Regions from separate parts of the Homo sapiens genome. Here regions 1 and 3 are each linked to region 2. The links are contacts of gene promoters, found by promoter capture Hi-C in human tissues and cell types (Jung and others, 2019). All regions are on one chromosome and are shown on one strand. The core of a region is centred on a gene start or on the middle of the fragment in contact, and the rest is flanking DNA. Distances in the headings are between cores, read along the strand shown.

The links. The method cuts DNA at HindIII sites, captures the fragments that hold promoters and counts their contacts. A contact is called where the count stands out against the background at its distance.
Region 1: a fragment that was not itself captured here is called in contact with the fragment with the promoter of TMEM30B in region 2 in 1 of the 25 tissues and cell types used here (mesendoderm cells).
Region 3: a fragment that was not itself captured here is called in contact with the fragment with the promoter of TMEM30B in region 2 in 1 of the 25 tissues and cell types used here (heart left ventricle).

Annotation. Positions count from the first base shown.
Region 1 is chr14:61,077,310-61,080,612 of GRCh38, forward strand. It overlaps a transcript of SLC38A6 not described here. Among named protein-coding and RNA genes, the nearest start is that of SLC38A6, 98 kb to the left of the region's middle. The HindIII fragment of the contact is 7,669 bases long and covers 1-3,303 here.
Region 2 is chr14:61,279,526-61,282,967 of GRCh38, forward strand. TMEM30B (transmembrane protein 30B) reads right to left here and starts at 1,813. Exons shown (of 1, transcript NM_001017970.3): 1 at 1-1,813. The coding sequence starts at 1,622. The coding sequence ends at 567. It also overlaps a transcript of PRKCH not described here. RefSeq lists an enhancer at 275-1,238. The HindIII fragment of the contact is 14,970 bases long and covers 1-3,442 here.
Region 3 is chr14:61,502,257-61,505,583 of GRCh38, forward strand. The region is part of intron 10 of PRKCH (protein kinase C eta); the gene reads left to right. Among named protein-coding and RNA genes, the nearest start is that of PRKCH-AS2, 42 kb to the right of the region's middle. The HindIII fragment of the contact is 8,499 bases long and covers 1-3,327 here.

The sequences.
Region 1 (3,303 bases), core at 471-2,970, 200 kb before region 2:
CAGTTATCTTATAGGTGGAAAGAAGTAGATACAAAAACAGATCTTGATTACAAAATTCGTTGATGACCTAGTTGACTCTTTCCCCAGTCATTACTAATCCTAACCTTTGGGAGCGAAAAATATCTAAATAAGTTCTGGTTTACAAATTTGCAAAATTTTTGTCAACACTTCAGAATTCAGAAAAAAACACAGGACATTTTTACTATATAACTTCCTAAGTTTATATGATATATCAAAAGTCAGTAAGGATTATACCATAATAATATTTACATTTCACAGGGAAGCAAAATACTTGGAGCCTCTCCTTGTCTTTGTCTAAAGATTTGTCATTCATTTGCATTCAAATAAATTCTTTGCTTTCATTCATCCAGAATGGTTCTCAATTTATTAGCTCATGAGACTACATAAATAGACTTGTATTCATACATTTTAATTTCAGTGTAAAATGGCTTTCCTCAATTTTTTTTTCTACTCAACTCTCCCAAAAGATGTCTAATCACTCCCACACTCAGTTACTTAAACATTTCATAATGTTGTTACTTCTATAGTAAAACAAAAAGTAATTTGCTTTTAATAAATCAGAGAGCCCTACTGTAGCAATCTAGAACTTTATTCTGGCGAGAGCAAATTCTCAAATTATATTTCCAGCCTCATTTGTGAATAGCTGATTTTCCCTGTCACAAAGCATTGTTAGGTAGGTACAGTATTTTTCTTTAGTTGGTAAACTACTGGAACTTACAATCCAATGGAGGTGACCTCTATACAATACCTGGGACGGTAATACCCTGAAGCGCAGGGTGTGGCTATTGCATGTGCCACATGCACATGAGGCCATCTGTGCGTGCTTGTTGAAAGAATGACATATCTTGGTGAGTAATATGAACATTAAAAGCTCTGCTGGATAAGCTCATAGAGGTGGGGTTCACTGCCTTCTGGGTGAGTGGGGAAGACTTTGTGAAGAAAGCAACAACTGAAGTAAAATTGAAGGATAACCAAAGTAGAAATGAGAATGAAAGGAAGATACTCCTGTTTGGAAAGAAAATACTAACAATATGTACAGGAAAATACAAGGTATACTTTGGAGATGACAAGTAAAAATTTTGCCAGGAGCACAGATGTAATAGCAATTTGAGAAGTAAAGCTGAAGGGTAGGATCCTGATGTAGAGAATGCTGGACCCAGGCTGAGCTTGGACTTTACATCAAGTAGAAGTGGTAGAGAAAGATTAATTGCCTCTCTGCATTGGACTAGTGCCATCGTCTTCCAAAAGCTAAAAAGAAGCACTTTAGGCCTTCAAGGGCTAGTTATCTAAAAACCACACTTGATTTGTTCTTAAGTCTCAGCTCCTGGGCATATGAGGAACTTTTTCTGGAGTTTTGGAAAATTCCTCATGCCCTCAGATCCTATTAAGACCTCTGGCATCTTTTTTTTTTTAATTATTTAATTTATTTATTTTTATTTTTTATTTTATTTATTTATTTATTTATTTATTTTGAGACAGGGTCTCATTCTGTCGCACAGGTTGGCGTGCAGTGGTGTGATCTCAGCTCATTGCAACCTCTGCCTCCCGGACTCAAGCAATCCTCCCACCTCAGCCTCCAGAGTAGCTGAGACTACAGGTATGCGCCACCATGCCCAGCTAATTTTTGTACTTTTTGTAGAGACAGGGTTTCACCATGTTGCCCAGGCTAGTCTCGAACTCCTGAGCTCAAGCAATCCGCCCACTTTGGCCTCCCAAAATTCTGGGATTACAGGCGTGAGCCACCGAGCCAGGTCAAGACCTCTGGCATCTTAAGAGACTTCCTATGAGTTCCTGCCTCCAAACTTTTTTTTTTTTTTTTTTTTTTGAGACAGAGTCTCGCTCTGTCGCCCAGGCTGGAGTGCAGTGGCGGGTATTGGCTTACTGCAACCTCTGCCTCCCGGGTTCAAGCGATTCTCCTGCCTCCACCTCCTGAGTAGCTGGGATTACAGGCACACACTACTACACCTAGCTAATTTTTCTATTTTTATTAGAGGCGGGGTTTCACCATGTTGGTCAGGCTGGTCTCGAACTTCTGACCTCTGGTGATCTACCCACCTCAGCCTCCCAGAGTGCTGGGATTACAGGTGTGAGCCACTGTGCCCGGCCTCCTGCCTCCAAACTTTTGCACAAACCATTCATGTTGTTTTTCTCTTTCCCCTCCAAAGCGTTTCTTCTCCCTCAAAACCTGTTTCCACACTCAACCTCCTCTAGAAGGACTTACCTGACTATGACTTAATGTAACTGCTCCATTACTCAGGAAACCTATGCTCAACATCTTGATGCTACATTTAATTTCTCTAAATGATAAAATATACAAATTCTTGTATATTTGTATGTCTAACCACCCTGCGACAGCCTTTAGGAAAGGTTCCACATCTGCCAACTCCTTTGTATCCTCCATCCAGAACCTGCCTCCCATCCCTACTTTACCCATCCACCTCAGAGACTTCATGGTACAGTGCAGTATACTTGGTGAGTGTTGATGGTTTAAGAGTGTGCCCTGAACAACGAAGGATTTCTTTGAGGCTGAAATCCTGTGGGATCCATGGAATGGGAGTTTCACCTGTCTTTGGCTTCTGCTCCTTTCCCCAGCATGTGTAGAGCTTCTAGAACAGTCCCCAGCAAGAGAGGATCACTTGGTACACCTCTTTCTTATCCTCACTGTCTCCAGTCTCTGCTGTAGGCCTGCTAGTGATGATCAGGATACAGGTTTTAACATGGCCAAGCTGTTAATAACCTGAGATTGGGCACCATGAACAATAAGCATTAAAAGGCAATAACAACAACAACAACATAACCTGTTAATTTTATGCAGGCTTAATTTTTTAAAGAACTATTTCTTCCTAACTTGCTTTTACTCTTCTTCATCTACTTTCTCATACCTATGACTGACAATGATAAGGACACCCACCCACTATACACACCTAATTCCATCCCTCCAAATTTGATTTCGTGTTCTCTAGAGCTGGCGTGTTATGTGACCTATTGTGGGGAGAGGCTCAGCTGAGGGACTCTGTGATGCCAAATGGACAAAGGCACACTTTTTTCTCCAGGTCCCAGCCTGGTGAAAGTCATAGCACCTGAGAATTTGGAGCTGACTCTCTCCTTTGGAAATTGTGCCTTCCAAAAATATATCTTACACTGCCTGTACCTGCATGCAATAGGTTTTGGTTCTTACCAACTGCAGCTTCAGTCTGAACTTGAGTTCTACCCTCATGGATGCAAATCAAAACAGCTCAGAATCAAGTCTGGGAAGCAAGTCGAAGTGGTTTGATTTGCATG
Region 2 (3,442 bases), core at 563-3,062:
CTGAATCTCTGTTTGGTGTCTCCTAATCTACCTGCATATTTAACAAGCATGTTCTCCCTCACGCCTCCACGTCTCTGCAGGTAATTTGTGGGCCTCACTCTCCATTCCAGCCCACTCTCCCCGACCAAAGAAAAGAAAACCACTGTACTGTAGTGGCGAAAGCCCTGGACTCAAGATTCAGGAGTCACTTGCAGCTGCCTGATCTTTGTTACTTCACATTGCTAGGTCTCTCAATCTCTTCCTCTAATAGGGGTTTAATAGGAGTCTCCATAGGGATCCCTTCCACTCTCAGACTTGAAGAACCTCACATGGCAACTCAGTGTCGTGAAGGAGGTGGGAAGAGTTTGCAAGGATGTTTCACTCTGCAGTCAACATCCCTCCCCGCGGCAAGACAGTCTAGCAGCCCCCCAAGAGCAAGGGGGGTAATTCCCTTATCTGGTCCCCTCATTCACAAAGGGAGGAAAAGCTAGGCGAGGTTGGAATTGGGTGACGGGCGAGGAGGAGATGCCAAAAGCACCTTGCAAGAGTTTTGGCAAGAAGCAGGAGGGATCCCTGGAAAGCCGGAATCACTCCTCGTCGTCGTCGTCCTGGTCCTGGTAGCGAATGTAGACGACCAGCATGACAAAGCCGGTGAGGATGCAGAGGGAGCCGACGACCAGGTAGGCGATGCCCAGGAAGGGGTTCTTGCCACCCATCCACGAGATGCTGCTGAAGATGAGGAGCTTGTGGCCGCCGAACGCGCGCACCGGGTAGTTGTAGGTGATGTTGACGCGGTAGGCGCCCCGCGGCAGCCCGGCCGAGTAGTTGCCCTGGCGGATGCGCGCGTACAGTTTGCGGAACGTGGGCAGCGCCGCCGTGCGCATCCACACCACGAAGTCCTGATTGATGAAGCCGGTGTTGTTGGGGTCGGGGCTGAGCTCGTAGACTGGCCGGCGCCAGTTGGGCGGGGGCGCCGTGCCCTGGAAGGCCAACGCCAGGCTGCCGTTGACCAGCGGCGGGTTGCGGAACTTGACGTGGTAGTCGGTCCACCAGGCGATGCCGGAGCGGTCGAGCGGCACCTCGACGTAGGGCCCGCCGGGCTGGCGCTGGTGCCAAAGCGAGAAGGAGTCGTTGAAGAGGCTGTTGGCGATGGCGCCGCAGGGCGCGATGGGCAGGCCGGCCGCGCTGCGCTGGTAGGGGGCGCACTCGTTGACAGGGTGGCGCAGCGCGCTGGGGAGTCCGCTCAGCTGCGCGTCGTCGCGGGACACGCCGTAGCGCCGGTTGTTCTGGTAGAAGTTGGTCAGCTCGTAGTAGAGGTACACTGGGCCCTGGAAGAGCTCGGGCAGCGAGAAGTACCAGGCGCACGAGCAGGGGGGCGGCAGCGCCCGGCCCTGGCCAGCCGCGGCGCACACCGAGCAGTTACCGGTGCCCGGGTCGCCTGTATAGTCGTACTCCAGCTCCTTGATGCCGTTGGAGGAGTAGTAGAGGCCCAGGCCCAGGCCGATGAAGGCCAGGCCCGCGCAGAAGAAGAGCGGCAGCGCGATGCTGGCCGACAGCAGCGGCTGCCAGGCGGGGAGGCGCTGCTGAGTGAAGGCGGTGTTGTCGGGCTGGTGGGCGCCCCGGGCCGTGGCGCTCCAGGTCATGGCGGCCGCGCGGGGACCGACGCGCGGGCTGACCGAGTGGGGGCCCCGCCGCGGGGCGCCTCCCTCTCCGCGCCGCGCAAGCCCGGGGACTGCTCGCGGGTCGGGTTTCCCGCCAGCTCAGGTGGGTTTTTGCCCGGGCCCCTCCTCTGCCTCCGTCACAGGTGAGTTTAGTTCCAGGCCCTACGAGCAGTGCCCACACCCTCCCAGTTCCGCCTCCGCCCAGGTGCGCTGCACCCCCGCGGGTCACCGGGAGCCGCACCTCGCCCGCCCCTTCCGAGGTGAGCAGGTGGGTGTTTTTTACCTCACCTGGTAGACTCAGTCTCGCGTTTCCTCTCAGTCCAGGTCATCGGACTCCACCTCCTCTCCTAGGTGAGTGGCGGCCCCGGGCTGCCTCTGAGTGGCTCCTACCTGGCTCAGGTACCACCTTCTCTTCCGCCTTCCAAGTGACTAGAGTTCCTGGGCCAGTCTCCCGAAATCAAAAGGCGCTCCGGCCTCCAGCAGAAATTTTTGCTGAGGGCTTGCACCGTGGTCCTGGAGGCTTGAAGATTTCAGATCCTTAATCCTCTGTTATTTGCGGGGAAAAGGTGGCTCTAGACCATTTTGTCTTTTAGGTTAGCTTCACAAACCGCTTTCGCCCAGCTTTCAGTCTCAAGTTGGGAGTGTCCAGGGAATTACGTTATGATAAATCTGTTTCGAATTCAACGCCTGCGTTCAAATTTTAGCTTTTTTTTTTTTTTTTTTTTTTTTTTTTTTTAAGGGAAAATGATTTTCTGGCCAGATCACCCAGTCTGGCTGTATAACTAGGAAATGTGGAAAGTTCTCTAAAAATAAAATCATCCTTAAAAAGAATCAAAGGCTGGAGAGGTTCAGAGCCTTTAAATAACTCTTAGCTGGTGTGGAGAAACCAAGAAAGGAAAAAATGTGCTGGACTACATGTGATTTCGTTTTCTTTTCAGATTATTTGCCTGACTAGAGAAAGGCCCAATCCAAGGTCCCAGGAGACCTAGCTGCTATCCACAAAAACATCTGGAGTGTCTGGCCTAAGGAAGTAAACTACAAGGATTTATAGGATTTATTATAAAAAGAACTCAAATTAGCTCCCTATGTTGCCTGGGATTCTGGCTTTTTTTTTTTTTTTTTTAAATCTAGGTTGGTAAAACATATACAAGGGGGTATTGGGACGTTCTGATTTCTTACTAAATCTAAATCTTCCCTAGGTATTGTGTTCTTGCTTCTCCTCCAGCTTGTAAAATGCAAGTAATACAAATGTTTTCTCTATTACACTACACCTAGCATAATATATTATATTCAGGAGTCATTCAAAACCCATTGAACTTGGAAAGTTAAAATCCTTATTAAATTTAACAGAGGAATGTTGTTAGCATCTTCCAAGTGTTCAGTCCTATGCTAATTAGACAAAAAAGGACCTTTGACCTCAAGGCATTTGCAGTTTGATAGGGGACATATTAGGAGTAAGAAACAATCAAAATAGCCAATAATAGCTATGAATCATAGGGTGTAATCAAGTATCAAATTGCATTCTACAAGTCACATTAAAATTAAAAAGTAATATTGATTTAATAATGGAACATTGATTCCAGTTTGTTAAATGAATGCAAGTTGGAAACCAGGTATTATAGAAGACTGAGGGAAATTCAAGTGACTTGAATTTCAATTCCCTCACTTCTTATCATACCCAAAGAGAGGAAGTTCCAAAATTCTCAGCAAGTTCCCACAGTGTGATCCAGTCTCCAGTCACCCTTTTTTTCAATAAAAGAATAAATAGTTCTTTGTATCATTATGGTTGAGTTCCACCCACC
Region 3 (3,327 bases), core at 390-2,889, 220 kb after region 2:
GTCACTATGTTGGCCAGGCTGGTCGCAAACTCCTGACCTCGTGATCCGCACACCCCAGCCTTCCAAAGTGCTGGGATTACAGACATGAGCCACCATGCCCATTCAATCTTTTCTTTTATCAGAAGGGTCTATGGGTGACAGTTCAAGTCCTGGAAATAATTCTGCTATCTCTTGTTGGAGAAAGTGCTGGTTTTTTCAGATCAGGCAACAGGCTTATAAACGTTTATTGCAGTTACAAGCTACAAAGAAAGATTTCTTTCCAGCACTACTGCTCCAGGTAGAGCAGTTGCACCAGTCATTATTTATAACTGGATTAAAGAGTAGCAGCACATACTTCTACCGTGGTTATAGAGTGCCTTCTGTTGTACAGAGTGGACTGCTTATTCACCAGGGAGTTCTCAAACACCTTTCTCTATGGGCGCTGTCCCAAATAATGTCAAGAGAGAAAAAATTAAAAATGAGCTCCTGCCCTCTAAGAACAGATGGGAGCAGCCCCAAATCTTGCAAATGAAGCAAGAGGGGGTATTCAGTCTTTAATCCAAGCAGCTAGAAGCTTGCCTTTCCCAAGTTCACCGAGTGAGGATTTTAACACTCCTTTGACAAAGAAATGGGGCCGAGCAGCAGAGGAAGGCAGGTGACACTGAGTCATGGAATTCACCCTTTCGAGCCCTTCCTGGGGGATGTGTGGCTCTTGGGTTGGTTCTTGAAGGAAAGGAATGAATGTAAGAGAGGAAGGGAAGCAGGCTTTTTTTTTTTTTTTTTTTTTGACTCCTACACAGAAGGTGGAATTGAGAAAAATATACTGTGGCGGTGAAATCAACTTACAAAACTGAGGAGGAAAATTTTGACAAAAGCAAACCCAAAATCTGATTACTGTGGGGCTGTCCATTTTATTGCTGCACCAAGGAGCAGGGTAGATACTATTTTGGCCTAAAGAACACTGAAATTTTGTTTTCTCATTTGCAAATAGACAGGTTCAAACCCGTCAGAGGCCGTAACTGAGTTTCCCTGTGACTGATTTGTATGTGTGTTAGTGGTTTTTTTTTTTTTTTTCCTGTAAGAATCTGGTTGAGTAATTCAGAAGGTTAAAAAACAACCAAACAGAAATAAGTGAGAAAAGTTAACTGAGGTCTGCCACATATGCCGGGAAGGTGCCCACAGACTGGCAGAATCTGTGCAGTCTTTGTCTGTTTCTGCCTATGCAAATACTAAGCCACGCTCAACAGAGCTTGAGCGTTGTATCTGTTCAACTGCCATTTAAGAAATAGGACTCTGTTCTCAACAGCTTATTCCTTGGGGTTTCAGAATGTAAAATATGAAGTGTGTATAATCACAGGCCAGGTTCCCAGCATTTCTCGGCATTTCAGCTTTGGCAGGAGGAATGGGAAAAACTGAAGTTTTTATGTCCAGGAAGGCTGAGTGTAATCTTTGTTCTGTGGCACTGGGAAAGGAAGTGAATCTGTTACAAAGCGCTTTACCTCTGAAGCATGTCTCAGGGGCAGCTGTGCTTTGTGCCATGTATTCTGTTTTCATAAAAAGAAAGAGGTAGAGTCGAGGGCTTACCATGCAGAGTATTTTCACAGTATCTCACTTGATATATCATCCAGGGAAAGTGACCTGTGTTATACTTTGTGTTTTAAGATATAACTCTAGAATCAAAAACTTACCAGAGAAGCTCAAGATACTTTACTTTGCAAGAATTAATTCTCAAGATAAAAACTCATCAGAGTTCAAGATAAGAAGGGTTCAATTAACAACACATTTTAAATGGAAGAATTATTTAAAAAATTGTTTTAACTTTGAATGAGCTTAGATTAACTTACCTGTTGCAGAGGTAGGTCAGACCCCATGTCATCATTTGCCCAGAAAAGTCCCAGTTTGCTCCCATAATCCCCCTTCATGACCCATTTTACTCTCAGAGGCCCATTTTGTTTATTGGGTTTTTTTTTCTTGAGAGAGTCTCGCTCTGTTGCCCAGACTGGAGTGCAGTGGTGCGATCTCGGCTCACTGCAACCTCCACCTCCTGGGTTCAAGCCATTTTCCTGCTTCAGCCTCCTGAGTAGCTGGGATTACAGGTGCTCACCACCACCCCCGGCTAATTTTTGTTATTTTTAGTAGAGATGGGGTCTCACTATATTGGCCAGGCAGGTCTTGAACTCCTGAATTTAAGTCATCTACTCACCTCGGCCTCCCAAAGTGCTGGGATTACAGGCATGAGCCACCGCACCCAGCCGTCTGAGGCCCATTTTGGGCGGTACACTGCATGGTCATCATACAAAGAGGTGTCTGCATTTCTACTTTTTTTTCTTTAAGATGGTAGAACCAAACAAAAAAGGGTGTTTTTACAAATTGAGAGGGGTCCCTCTGTAGGAGGGGAATTTCTCCAGCATTTTCCTTTGATGGAGTATTCTCCTCTCGTTCAGAAATAGGAAATTTAGTAACTAAAGCATTAAGAACAGATTTATTTTTTAACATCAGTCACTACCTTAGTTTCAGAGACACACTGGGGGAAATTGCCTTTCCCTTACGCCTCTTGTTTTATGTCCTTTATATGAGATGTTAATATATTTACATGAGGTATAAATTTGTCTGTAACTTTATAGGTTTGTATTCATTTATTAATCCATCCATCCATTCATTTACTCATTCAACAAATGTTAATTGAGACCTATTTTTTGCCTGGAGATATAATAGTGACCACAATAGGCCTGCTCCCTGCCCACAGGAAGCAGGCATTCTAGTGTAAGCACACAAACAAGTAAAAGTAATTACCAATTGTGAAAGTTACATGGAAGGAAATAAGTGAGCTTTTATTTGTGGTTTTATTTCATAGAGCTGAAGGAAGTGAAGAGACAGATACCTCTCTCCCCACTTCTTTCATTGCTGAATGTCTGAAGTATTTCTTACTCCATTGGACTACTATGACAGAACACTATCGATTGGGTGGCTTGTAAACAACAGAAAATTATTTCTCAGTGCTCTAAAGGCTGGAAAGTGCAAGGTCAAGGTACCAGCAGATTTGGTGTCGGGTGAGGGCCTGTTTCTTGGTTCACGGATAGCTGCCTTCTCACTGAGACTTCACATGGTGGAAGCCGTGAGAGAGCTCTCTAGGATTTGTCTTTTCTTTTCTTTTCTTTTCTTTTTTTTTTTTTTTTTTTTTTTTTTTTTGAGGTGGAGTCTTGCTCTATCGCCCACTGCAACCTCCACCTACCGGCTTCAAGCAATTCTCCTGCCTCAGCCTCCTGAGTAGCTGGGATTACAGGCATGTGCCACCACGCCTGGCCAATTTTGTATTTTTAGTAGAGATGGGGTTTCTGCATGTTGGTC